3 separate regions of the Homo sapiens genome follow, and all the other regions are linked to region 2. Evidence: promoter capture Hi-C in 16 types of primary human blood cells and fetal thymus (Javierre and others, 2016). All regions are on one chromosome and are shown on one strand. Each heading gives the region's core, a stretch centred on a gene start or on the middle of the fragment in contact. The rest is flanking DNA. Distances are from core to core; before and after follow the strand shown. Region 1 overlaps LINC01934 (long intergenic non-protein coding RNA 1934). Region 2 holds the start of ITGA4 (integrin subunit alpha 4). Region 3 overlaps LINC01934 (long intergenic non-protein coding RNA 1934).

Region 1 (4,041 bases), core at 201-2,700, 66 kb after region 2:
TTAGCATACAAGTAAAAATTATTTTTATAATCCTGGGATGAGGAACACATCATAAGCATGGTATATAATATAGGAACCATATTAAAAAGTTTATAAACAATAAATAATGCAATAAAACAAAGTGAAAATAAAATGGCACACCAGGGGAAATATTTTCAACAAAACTGAGAAACTGTTGTTTCCTTAGTGTAATATTTGAAGATGTTTTATAAACTGTTATTAAGCAGGTGAATACCCACAGGAGCATACTGATTATGTCAAATAATTTTTTTAATCATGAAAAAATATAAGTGGCAAATAACTTGTGAAACAATGTTTGGTATATTTAATTATAAAAAGAAACAACAGTGAAATACAATTTTTCCTATCATTAGACAGGGAAAGATATAAATCAAATCTTATACTATTACTGAAGTTCACTTTGGTGATATAAATTAAAAGCCCTTATACTGGCTTGAGCAGATATTGTTTTGCGAAGATGGTAGCAATATATAACCCATGCCACATGTTTTTCTTACAACGTGACATCAACACTCCTCCATTGAGAGATGGGATCCATGTCCCCTCCCTTTGAACCTAGGTGACCTTTATAACTGCTTCTACTCATAGAATGTAGCAGAAGTCTAAGTAATAAAACGCAATATAGCTTCATCTACTGTGCACATACATAGCCCCTCTCTCTCTGTCTATTTGCTCTTGATGCCCAGCCATCTTGTGAAGAAGTTTGGCCTCCAACTGATGGCTAGGATTAAACTCTAGACATACGAGAGTGACCCTTCAGATAATTCTAGCCCCTTGACTTCTAGTCCTCTCGTTGCAATCCAGATATCACGAAACAGTGTTCCTGCTGAAAAATTGCAAAATGGTGTTTTGTTCTTCCACTCTTCCTACATTCCCCTTCCTATTACTGAACAAATTAGCAAATGCCCTTCTTGTTCTTAAGGGATGAATATAGACATAGGAATAGTAATTTACTTGAATGAATGTGCATAGACACATACTATCCTGAAAATGAATGAGTCATATTATTACACATTGAAAAGGTCATGGATAATATTATTATGCCTGTTTTTACACATGGGGAAAAGCATCCTAGAAAGTCTAAATGGATTACCCAGTAACCATCGGAAATTATCTGAGAACAAAACTAGATATACCCCAAAATTTATGATCTTTGCACTGTGCAGAGTAGCATCGGGAAACATTTCAAATTTCTATTGCACTATACTAGGTACTAGGTAAAGAGGATTGTATAGTCATATTTCCCTAGACATTTTAGTCTTTGTAAATTAATACTCATTTACTTATGAAGGGCAAAAAATTTGATATGAAGATAACACTGAATTTCACAAGTAGATTATTAGTGAAATGATATGATAAATAAATGAAGCTAAAAGGATTTACTTTAAATCTGAATGTTTTATTTATGTACCAAGATAATTCATTTATTTAGATAACTATATATTTTTAATACACTGTACTTATTTTCAACAGTCTAAAGTATAACCAGAAGGGGTTTATATTTTACACCTTAATTGTGTAGGACCTGTCCAAGGTATAATTGCGAATTCAGTAAAACTTATTTTCAGAACTCACTCATATTACCTGGCCTTCAAATTTCATTACCTGGACACATGGACATGTGTCTCTTTTCCTTATAGAAAGGTTAATTCTGGCCACAAAGCTATGTTACTTAAAGTAAATTGCCTAGCAATTCTATCTCATTGGCCCAGAAGTAATTAACATTTTTGACAATCACAATTTTAAATGAGCTACCCTGTCTTACAGTGATTGACTGATTTTTCATCTTGTTGTTTCAGAATGCTGCATAAAAATAAGTTACTAAGACTTTTTATAAACATTTTGGTACAATTTGCAAAATATCTTAAACCTTTAATTTAGGTTACGTAGAAATGGGCCATTGATTAGGCAAATGTCTAAGAAACTATCAGCTGTAGCACACATTCTATGAAGGGAAGAATACTGAAGGTCAGAGAATATCATTACCTGAGAGTCAAAACCTAAAAAGCAATAGAGCCAGAATTAGAAATCAGGTTTCCTAAACCTTAGTTGACTTCTTTTTTCCCACTGCTATATTCCACTGTATGGTTATGCTGCAGCTGCCTAGACAGGCCAAAGAAAATGAGCATCTACTTTTAGTCCTCTAGGACAGGTTACCTGCTGTCTGTGAAATACTCAGAACCTAGTGGTTGCTGGATTCTATATAATTAACAAGACAGTTCTAAATGTGGGCTAAGGATGTGTCTCATGCTATATAGATTGCATCCAAAGCTGTTGTTTACGTAATTGAGTGGTTATGGCAATCTTCCTAAATCATTGCAAATTATTAAGCAGCATGTGGCACAACTGGGACCAGGAAGGCTCAGGTGTAACAAATGATTGTCCTTTGAGAGAGACATTTCTTCACAATAGAAAAGTAATTCATTAGTGAAATACAAGAATCTCCAACTGGAGCAATTAAGCATATTGAAAAATGTTATATAAATATAGTCATTTGCTTCCTGTAAGAATTAAAGCTGAAACCAAAGATCAGTTTCCCAATATCCAAAGGATGCAAATTAACTTAAAATAGAATTTTTCTTTGACACATTATTTATATTTTTATTAAAATAGCATTTTTTTCTGTAGGGAATTTTAAGTTTCCATTTTAAATGTATTTATTTAATTCAGAGTTTTATTCTTACATAAAATATATAAGAAAAGCAGCAGAACTCAAAGAAAAACTTAGGAGGCAGGATATTATTGGTGTTTTAGATAAATATGATAGAAAATAAGAAGTTAAAAATCCAGGTAATTCATAAAACAGAAGAATTTTAACAAATAAACATAGCACCAGGAATAAGTTTGTAGTTACTGCACCAAAGATAATAAGCCGAAGACTAGAATATCTTGAATTTGAGTCTACCTGGCCCTAGAGTTACCTTGATGCCTCATACCTTAAATAAATCTGATGGCAATTTTCTTTTTCTTTCTTTTCCTTTTCTTAAAACTCACATACATTGTGTCTGTCATCTTCTTTTAGATTATAAACACATTTGTGAAGCTTTTATCCCTTTTGGGCACATATTAATTTGTTTTTAATACTGTTTTTCTGAGTAATCATTATAAATGAATATAGTAAAACTTCAAGCTACTTTTTTTGGTTTATTGTTTTCTGGGTTTTTTTTATATTAGTGAGTAGATTTCATTGAAAAACATTTTTGTTAACATTTGTTGGGCAAGGTTTGAGGAAACAGTACAATTGAAGTGGATCGCAAAATGAATATTAATTTAAGTCTCCAAAAGAAGCTGGACTAGACAAAAAGTTTGCATATTTTATGCCCATATTAAAAAAAAAAAACCTAACTCTAACATCTGTGAGTCATGATTAGGCATTCAATTAAGGCAAATAAATAAGTCAAACTTTTGCATGGATTCCATTAATCACATTTGCTATTACATCAGTTAAATTGAGGTTATTTATTTCACCATTTCATAAATAATATCTCATCGTGGACTTGTTTGTGGGTAAAAATAGGACATTGCATTTACATCTTTCTGAAGAAACAGATGCAGGAAGGGGTACATGCCTAGGAGGCTCTCTGCTCATCACTTACACTTAATGCATTGCGCCAGGAGAAAGCAGTTGTTTTGAAATGTATCAATCTTCTTTTTAATTTCAGTATAGTTTTTTTGTGGAAAATACTATAGAGTTGAGAAAAATTAATTATGGTACAACTCTTAGGAAGATTTTTGAAAACTGGGCAACTTAATTTAGTACATAATGTAAAATTGCCATAAAATGCAATGACATAACTCATATATGAATACAGAATAAGAACAAGTCAAAGATTTATTCAACTCACTAATGAGGGAACAACCAGGATGATAAAATTGCTTCAAAGAGTATTTGGGGAACTGAATGCTTATAGAAAATGATGAAAGAAAGTCAGAATAAAATTGCTGGATTAAATACACAACAGCATAATAATCTATAGTCAATAAAACAATAATATTTGTGTTTTAATTTTTTTTTTTTTA
Region 2 (3,988 bases), core at 670-3,169:
ATTTGCATTGAAGATACATACATGGAAGAAAATGGCTTAGACTTTGGACGCATTCAGACCCTAGTTTGACTTTAGTTCCCACCTATCAGTCACTAGCTAAGTAACTTTTAAAAAGGTATTTGCAACTCTGAGCCACAGTCCTCATACATAAACTAGGAACAATGTCAACCATGACCCAGGGTTGCTTTAAGGGGAAAAAAGTTAAGCAATATATATAGCAGTAACACTTTGGAACAAGATAGGTCTTGTTATTTAATATTCCTTCCTCTTTCCCCACTTGCCTGTGTGCAACAAACTTGTCTTTGGCTTTGAAACATGAAACTTCTCCCCTCTATCAGTACACATTTTTCAACTTGTCACAAATCTGAGACATTGAGAAATGACTGCAAAAAGATGGACCCATATAACATGAGTTTTGGATGACGGTTTTGGGAATGGAAAATTATACTACATTAACGATGAAGATGCCAATTTTCCTTTTCTTTTAGATTGTATATTGTAAGTAAAACTATCACTTTTTTTTTTAGGCCTTTAGGTTAAACGACGGGATATGGGATCAATTCCAATTGCTATTCCTGATATGCTCCTTAGCCTGTTCTTTAAGAGGGTTGATAGGTCAAAGATGGAAATAAAATTCTCAAGTCTTGGCTTAGCTGGATCCTGTCCTTAATACGCTGAGAGAGTCTAAAATGTGCTTTACACACGGAGAGACGGGGAGAGATGAAGAGAAGGTATCATAAGAAATTTCTCTAGCATAGTTGTCAGAGTACTGCAATCATTGCCATAAGGAAAAGGGAGAACGATATTAACAGAAAGGGAATCCCTTTTATATTAAGGAGGCAAGATGAGATGGAGTTGAAACTGAAAACTTTATGCTCTTTAAACCAGAAGTAACAGGCAACGTGAATCTTTCCAGGACTTGCCCTATGGTGGGGTCCACATGGGGGGTCGGGAGGTCACTAACTCCTGGTCCCATACCCAACTCACCCAGCTGGAGCTGTTCGCACGTCTGGCCGGGATTCTTTCCGATCCTGCATCTGTAAATCGCCCCGGGATTGATCACTGAAGCGTTGGCGAGCCAGTTGGCAGTGGGCGCACCCACTAGGAGCCTAAAGCGAGACACGTGCACGTGCGCTCAGACGTGAGCTGTGCTGCCCACTGAGCTCCCTGTCGCCACAGATGTGCAGTCCGCAGCAGGGCAGCTTCCCCACCTCCTCCTCCGCCCACCACCCCCGACTCGAAGCTCCAAGACCTTGCACCATAACGCACCCGGGGCGCTGCCGCCCCAAGATAAGTTAGTTTCCCTGGCAGATTTCCAGCGAGCTGGCTCTCGCAGCGTTTCCCTCCTGCCTCCTTGGGAGGGAGGAAAGTTTGAATCGGGCAGGGAATCCCTAGGGCGCCATTCTCACGCCGCTCTGAGCTGCTGAGGGCGCATCAGTCCAACTCTACTCACCATCGGTTCGCCCCGTGGCTGTGCAGCACGACCGAGTAGCCGAACAGCGTGTTGTGGGGGCCCTGGTAAAGCAGCGCGCTCTCAGTGTCCACGTTGTAGGGGCGGCCGGTCGGGACCCCCAGGCACAGCAACAGCATCACCGTCTCCCGGACGGCGGCCCTTCGGGGGCCGGGTTCGCGCCTCGCTTCCCAAGCCATGCGCTCTCGGTGGGGAACATTCAACACTAAACGGCCACTACCCCAAAGTTGCACGGGATGCGACGGTTGGCCAACGGGGAAGAACGCCCCAAGAGATGAGGCGCAGCGTGTCCGGCGCCAGCGGGCTAAAGGAAGGAGAGAGGGAAGAGGAGGGGAAGTCGGCCCACCGCGGGCGGAGCGTTCGGGCCGGCCTGGGATGCCGCGCACTCGCCCGGCCCCACTCCCGGTTTCTGCCGCCAGCCGGGAGCTTCGGGTGCTCGCGCTGCTTCTCCGGGTACGGGCCGCTGGGTGGGGTCCCGGGCGTGGTGCGGAGGCGCAGGGCCGGGCTCCGTCTCTGCCTACGCGCGGCTGCAGGGGGCGCTGGGGAACCTCGGCTGCGCAGGACTCGCGTCCTGGCCCGGGCCTCCCAGCCCGCAGAGCGCGGGATGGCTCTGGGCTCAGCAAGAGCGGACCTGATGGGGCACGGGCTTCCCCTTTTAACGGTGGTTGGGGCCTAGAAGCGGAGCTGTGTGACCCCAAACTGCGCGCCCCTCGCTGTGACCGCCCAGCCCGGCGTGGCCCAAATGCCAGCCACAAACTCGGGGAGTGGGACTGCGGCGGGGAGCCGTCCAGTTCTTTCGTTGATAGTTAAACACTGTGTCTTGTTTTTCAGGTGTAGGCAACCACTAGATAAATTATCAAGAGCCACAGATTAAAAACAAAAAACCAAACAAAAAGACTCGCCGAAGGCCCCTGGGGAACATTTTAGTGACAAAGACGTTATGGCTATTCTCTTCAAGACCCACATCTCAGCACCCTTCTATACCCACTTCCTTCCTCCCCACACTTCCTCTGCAGCCCGGGCTGCATGCGTGAGCAGGCTAGCAGCAGCCTCTCAGGCTGAACGGCAGGCGGTTTAGGCTGTGGCTGACCCCAACAGAGAGGTTGGGTTAAGGAAGCACTGTGACTTGATTCACTTTAACCGATTCGGATTGCTCCAGCTGGTAATTGATGATCCCCCCTTTTCACGCACCCACTCAGTTGCCACGGGACACACCTGCTTTTAGGGGTGTAAACCCCAGTGTGGGGTCAGGGTCCTAATGAGCCTCTGAAATGTGCCGGAGACCCACAACGCAACACACCTGAACTGGGTAGTGAGTCTCATTCTAATGCAATCCAGGTGTGCCCTGCCTTTTTTTTTTTTTTCCTTCAGCAACCAGAGAGACAGCCATAGGTGATTATTAGACTGATATTTTCAGGAGATGAAAGTCTAGTTTTTTATTGTTGCTATATGTAAAAAGAAAAGAAAAGTCTGCATCAAAGAGTGTGTCTGTGTGCTAAAACCATGCTGGAATAAATAACACATCTGACACTAATGACAGATACACAATTAAAATGCTTATTCATTTATTCAGCACATTCATGGAGCAGGCACTTGACTAGGACCACAGGATTCCACCAAGAGTAAGGCAGGACTGATACAAAGTTTCAAAAAATGTTCGCTCCAATGGTAGATAGAAAAATTTGTACTAACTAGAGAAAGATCCAGGTAAGGACACTTAAAGAGAGATTTGAAGGACCAGGAATCTTGAATCAGGCTAAGAATGGGATGAGCAATAAGGAGGGCTCCAGAGGAGCCAGGTAGAAGAACTGAGAGAGCTTGCCTGGCTAGAGTATTTAGCCACTCCACACACAGGTTGGTGTGATATGAGGCTGACTTAGGGAAGCAGGAATACATGGTGAACCTCATGAGCCAGGTTAGGAATTTTAAATCTATGTTGGGACTGACAGGAAGTTGAAGAATTTGTCTCGGTCAGCTCTGGGTTTCAGAAGTGTGAATGCAAGACTGAACACAGAAAACCTAATTTTGGAAGCCCCTGCAGCAATAAGTAGAGATAGGATAATCCCAAGGGGAAGTATTTCTCTTTCTTGAAAGAGAATGGTGCTACCATTCATGGAGAAAAAAACACTGAGAAATGAAGTTATATGCATGTATGTGTGCATGCAGATGGGGGCATGGATGGGTTAAGTTTTAGCCATGTGGAGTTTGAGATGTTTATGGAATGACAGGATATTCTAGCCAAACTCAATGCAATTATTTTCAGTCTGTCAACAGACAAAACATGAGGAATATTAACTTTCTCTTACTCTATACTGGAAAAAGTCAATACAGTGTGTGATAAATCTATTGTAAAAATGAAATGGCTTCCAGAAAGCTAACAATCAGGGCCCATGGCTGTTTCTTTCTGTAGTAGTGCTGAGTGTGTTTCTTTCTTAGTAGATCTACATGCTGATTTTAACCCAGTTCCACAATGAGCTTACAGTGTCGTTATTCTGAACTATGCAATCCTTCTTGTTT
Region 3 (4,043 bases), core at 1,281-3,780, 87 kb after region 2:
AACCAGAGCAAAACAAACCAACTCTAACAGATGCTTATCAAGGGGAAATGCAGTTGGAAAGACTTCTTTGTGAGGAATAATCATGAGGAAAAACAATGAAAATGTACAGATGATAAATTTGTCATATGAACTCAAATAAAAAGACCTCATTAACAGGAAGCTCTTTAAAGCCTCAAGGTTCTGAAGTTTCTCAAATGCCTGCTGAATGATATGCTCAAGCTGACCTATTTCTTCTTCCTTCACTAAATATTATAGTAGCATATACCAAATGAAAATTATATTCATAATATTCAAAAACCCTCAAACAATCATAGTCTTCAATTTGGCAACACATATGGATTACTTTCCAGCCCTGTCAGGACAGAACAGATTCTGGACAAATCAAGAAAGAAGGAAGTGCTGGTACAATCACACAGACGAATGCCAGTTGTCTGAAAAAACAAGTTTGCTGTCATCTTGGGACATATCATTTTTAGAAACAATGACCCATTTGGCAGCCTCACACACATTCCCAGCTCTGAAAGCTTTCCAGCATTCCAGGCCTTACTTTATTTAGGTTTGGGATTTTTTGGGAATAAATCTTTGGTGAAGCAAGTGCAGAATCTTAATTCCATTCAGTATTACTCATTCCATTCACACCATTTTTTTTTTTTTTCTCATTGTGTCTTCTGTTAGCGACCCTTGTCTCCCTGCCTCAAAGACCTTGTCTGGACACCTCATATCAAATGGCAGCAGTGTGGAATGTCTAATTATTTCACTGTTGAACTTGAACAGCTGTCTGAGATGGTCTATTTAACCATGCTGGTCCTCTGGTTTTTGAAAACAGCCTTTGTTATATGAAGGATGTGGTTTTCCTCATTAGAAAATGTTTGCTTTTGGCCCAGTCAACATCTGAAAGGCCCTGAGTTAGATTTATTCAAAATTTCATGTTCTACTTTTTCAGTTTCAATTAAATTTTTATTGACTAGATGAGGTTTCTAAAGGGTAGAGAATTAGGTGTCTCAGGACCCAGAAAATTTTCCGCCTATTTCCAAGCATCTGACAGTATCAGTCTTCATCGAATTTTGAGACTTCAAATAGTTTTCCTAGCATAGAATGGGCTTTTCTAAAATATGTGAATTCTCTGAGCCAAAACATAAGTTCCTAGAGAATTTCTAGCCTGCACACCTAGGTTGAGAAAGATTCTGGGAAGCAAAACATTTTCCCTTTGAAAAGGGAGTTCAGACTAAGTTTCAGGGAGGAAGTGGGGTCATAAAAGAGTGGTAGGCAAGTGTAAGAACAGCCCTTTGTCAGGGAACTGGAGGGAGGGTGGTGGAGCCCTGGGAAGCAAAGGGACCCTGTTTTTAGTGAAGGCCTTTGACTTCTGAACTCATGATCTCTTCATTCTTTATGGGGTTTGCTTCGCTGTCAATTGCCCTTTGTTCATATGTGCCTGTTAACCTGACTTCCATTGTAGGGTGATGGTCTTTTTCCCTCCCCATCTTTGGATCTTCATATACAAACAGTTTTAATGATTCCATCATGTCCTTTGTGGAAACAGCCTAATAGGCTGTTATATTTTTTCATTTCACTCATATTCACAGCTTCTGTTCTCATTAGGTTAATATGAAATGAACGTAGTAATTTCCAACATGATTATAACAAGAACTAAGAATATGTATATTGTTCTTCATCTTATAAATCATTTTCACAATGTATCTCATTTATTAATCTATAGTCCTTGAGTAATTGTTAATTTGAGATCATTAGGCCTAACGAATTTTTTAAATGCATCAATTCTTCCTCAAAAGGTAGTTTGCAGATATTTACATAGGCTAAACAAAAATAGTAAAATGTTAAAAGTTTTTCTCAATAATTAAATAAGATAAGCTTTTATGACTTCTTCCTAATCTCAAATATCCTTTAGGAGCAAGTTAGAATCGAATTTTCTGCTTTCAGATTATATGTTCGACTCAAAATGAAGCAACAATTTGCTTATGTTTATTCAGTTAAGAAGAATTAAGTTCAATTTCTAGTACTCATAAAAATTTAGAAAAAATTCTCATGGAAGATATTTTACAACCACATTGGCTAATATGTATTCTTAAGTCTATGGATACTTTCAATAAGCTGACAACATAATTGTATGAGAAAATACATTCTTTTGAAAAGTTATAACATTTAAAATAAAGAAATATAAAAGGTACTATATGAGAATGGGTATCGCTTTTTCTCTTTAGGATGAATGGGCTAATTTATAACTTGTCAAGGGTCAGTAAGGCCAAATGCTCTAAGAAATATAGAGAAAAAGCCACATCATGGAATTGCTAAAGGGTACAAAGCGGTCATTGATTTATAAAGCAGACAATCTTCTGGTTTCCTCTTTATATTATGAACATTCCTCTATAACCCTTTTATTCCTGGGTCAATTAAACCAGTAAAAGTGGATGGCTTGTAGGGCCAGCCTGTGGCCCACATTTGGGCCCACGATCAGCATTTTAGCAGTTCAAGGATATATATCTGTGCTCACATATAACTCCTTACCTTCCCCACCAAGAGTGAAGAAGGGCCTGAAACTGCTAGGTGCCTTCTAGTATCCATTCTTCTCTTCTTCCTCAGGAACAAATTTTCATTTGGCATAGGAATGCAAACAACCTAAGGATTACATTTTTCTTCCTTCCTTACAGTTAGGTGTGTCCAAATTACTAACTCCTGGTCCATGAGACGAAACAGTCTTTTGGTAGCCTGCTTAAAGTCAGCTGACTCAGCAGGGATACTTAACTTTTGTCCCTTCTTCCTGATGTTTGGACTGCAGATGTGATGAATGGGGCTCTGGTTGCCATCTGGAATTATGAGGTAAACTTGAGAATGGAATGAGAGACAAAAAATGAGAAGGATGGTGTGGATTTCTGATGCCTTTGTTTCTGTCACTCCAGCCTGGACCACCTAACTCCAGATGACTTGTATGCGAGAGAGAGAGAAACTTTTATCTTTTTAAAGTCACTATTAGTATGGGTTTTCTATTACATGAATCTAATTCAAGGTGATAGAAGAGGGAATTTTATTGCCGTTTTGCTATTCCTGGGAAGAGCTGTATGACCTTCAGGGCTTCTCTTTAGAAACTGTAAGAGTGGTAGACCTTAGTGGGCCTGGACCACATGTGACAGGGCATAATGATAATAATGGTACTATTACCATTTAGTGAAAGCTTTATGCCAGTCACTGTTCAAGGTTCTTTTTTTACAGGCTTTTAACTTAATTACCATACCTACACCACACTTCAGTGTGTGTGTGTGTGTGTGTGTGTGTGTGTGTGTATATATATATATTTATATATATGCACATACAGCCACATGCCACTTAACAATGGGGCTCTGTTCTGAGAAATGTGTTGTTAGGGTGATCTTGTCATTGTGTGAACATCACAGAGTGTACTCACACAAACCCAGGTGTGATAGCCTACTATACACATAAGTTATATGGTATAGTCTATTGCTCCTAGGTTACAAACCTATACAGCATGTTACTATACTGAATACTGTAGGCAGCTGTAACACAATGGTAAGTATTTGTGTATCTAAACATACCTAAACATAGAAAAGGTACAGTAAAAACATGGTATAAAAGATTAAAAATAGTACATCTACATAGGACACACCATGAATGGAGCTTGCAGAACTGTAAGTTGCTCTGGGTGAGTTAGTGAGTAATGAGTGAATATGAAGGCCTAGGATATTATTGCACATTACTGTAGAATTTATAAACACTCTACACTTAGACTATAATACATTAAAAATTTTTTCTTTCTTCAGTGATAAATTAGCCTTAGCTTACTCTTTTTTACTCTATACGTTTTTAATTTTTAAAAAACTCTTTGACTCTTTTGTAATAACACTTAGCTTAAAGCACAAACACATTGTATGAGTATACAAAAATATATTCTTTCTTTATGTCTTTATTCTATAAGCTTTTTTCTATTTTTGGAAATTTTTAATTTTTAAAAATTTTTTGAACTTTTTTGTTAAAAATGAAGATACAAACACACATATTAGCCTAGGCCTACA

Evidence for each region. The method cuts DNA at HindIII sites, captures the fragments that hold promoters and counts their contacts. A CHiCAGO score of 5 or more calls a contact.
Region 1: a fragment that was not itself captured here is called in contact with the fragment with the promoter of ITGA4 in region 2 in 3 of 17 cell types (total CD8 T cells, erythroblasts and naive CD8 T cells); the score reaches 7.9 in total CD8 T cells.
Region 3: a fragment that was not itself captured here is called in contact with the fragment with the promoter of ITGA4 in region 2 in 3 of 17 cell types (erythroblasts, total CD8 T cells and naive CD8 T cells); the score reaches 12.3 in erythroblasts.

The regions. Positions count from the first base shown.
Region 1 is chr2:181,389,117-181,393,157 of GRCh38, reverse strand. All of the region lies in intron 4 of LINC01934 (long intergenic non-protein coding RNA 1934), which reads right to left. Among named protein-coding and RNA genes, the nearest start is that of ITGA4, 66 kb to the left of the region's middle. The HindIII fragment of the contact is 3,233 bases long and covers 1-3,066 here.
Region 2 is chr2:181,455,317-181,459,304 of GRCh38, reverse strand. It overlaps ITGA4 (integrin subunit alpha 4), which reads right to left and starts at 1,919. Exons shown (of 28, transcript NM_000885.6): 1 at 1,454-1,919; 2 at 988-1,109. The coding sequence starts at 1,650. RefSeq lists enhancers at 873-922, 1,283-1,332, 1,393-1,582, 2,303-2,412 and a silencer at 1,733-2,122. The HindIII fragment of the contact is 9,740 bases long and covers 1-3,988 here.
Region 3 is chr2:181,368,597-181,372,639 of GRCh38, reverse strand. All of the region lies in intron 4 of LINC01934 (long intergenic non-protein coding RNA 1934), which reads right to left. Among named protein-coding and RNA genes, the nearest start is that of MIR4437, 65 kb to the right of the region's middle. The HindIII fragment of the contact is 1,318 bases long and covers 1,872-3,189 here.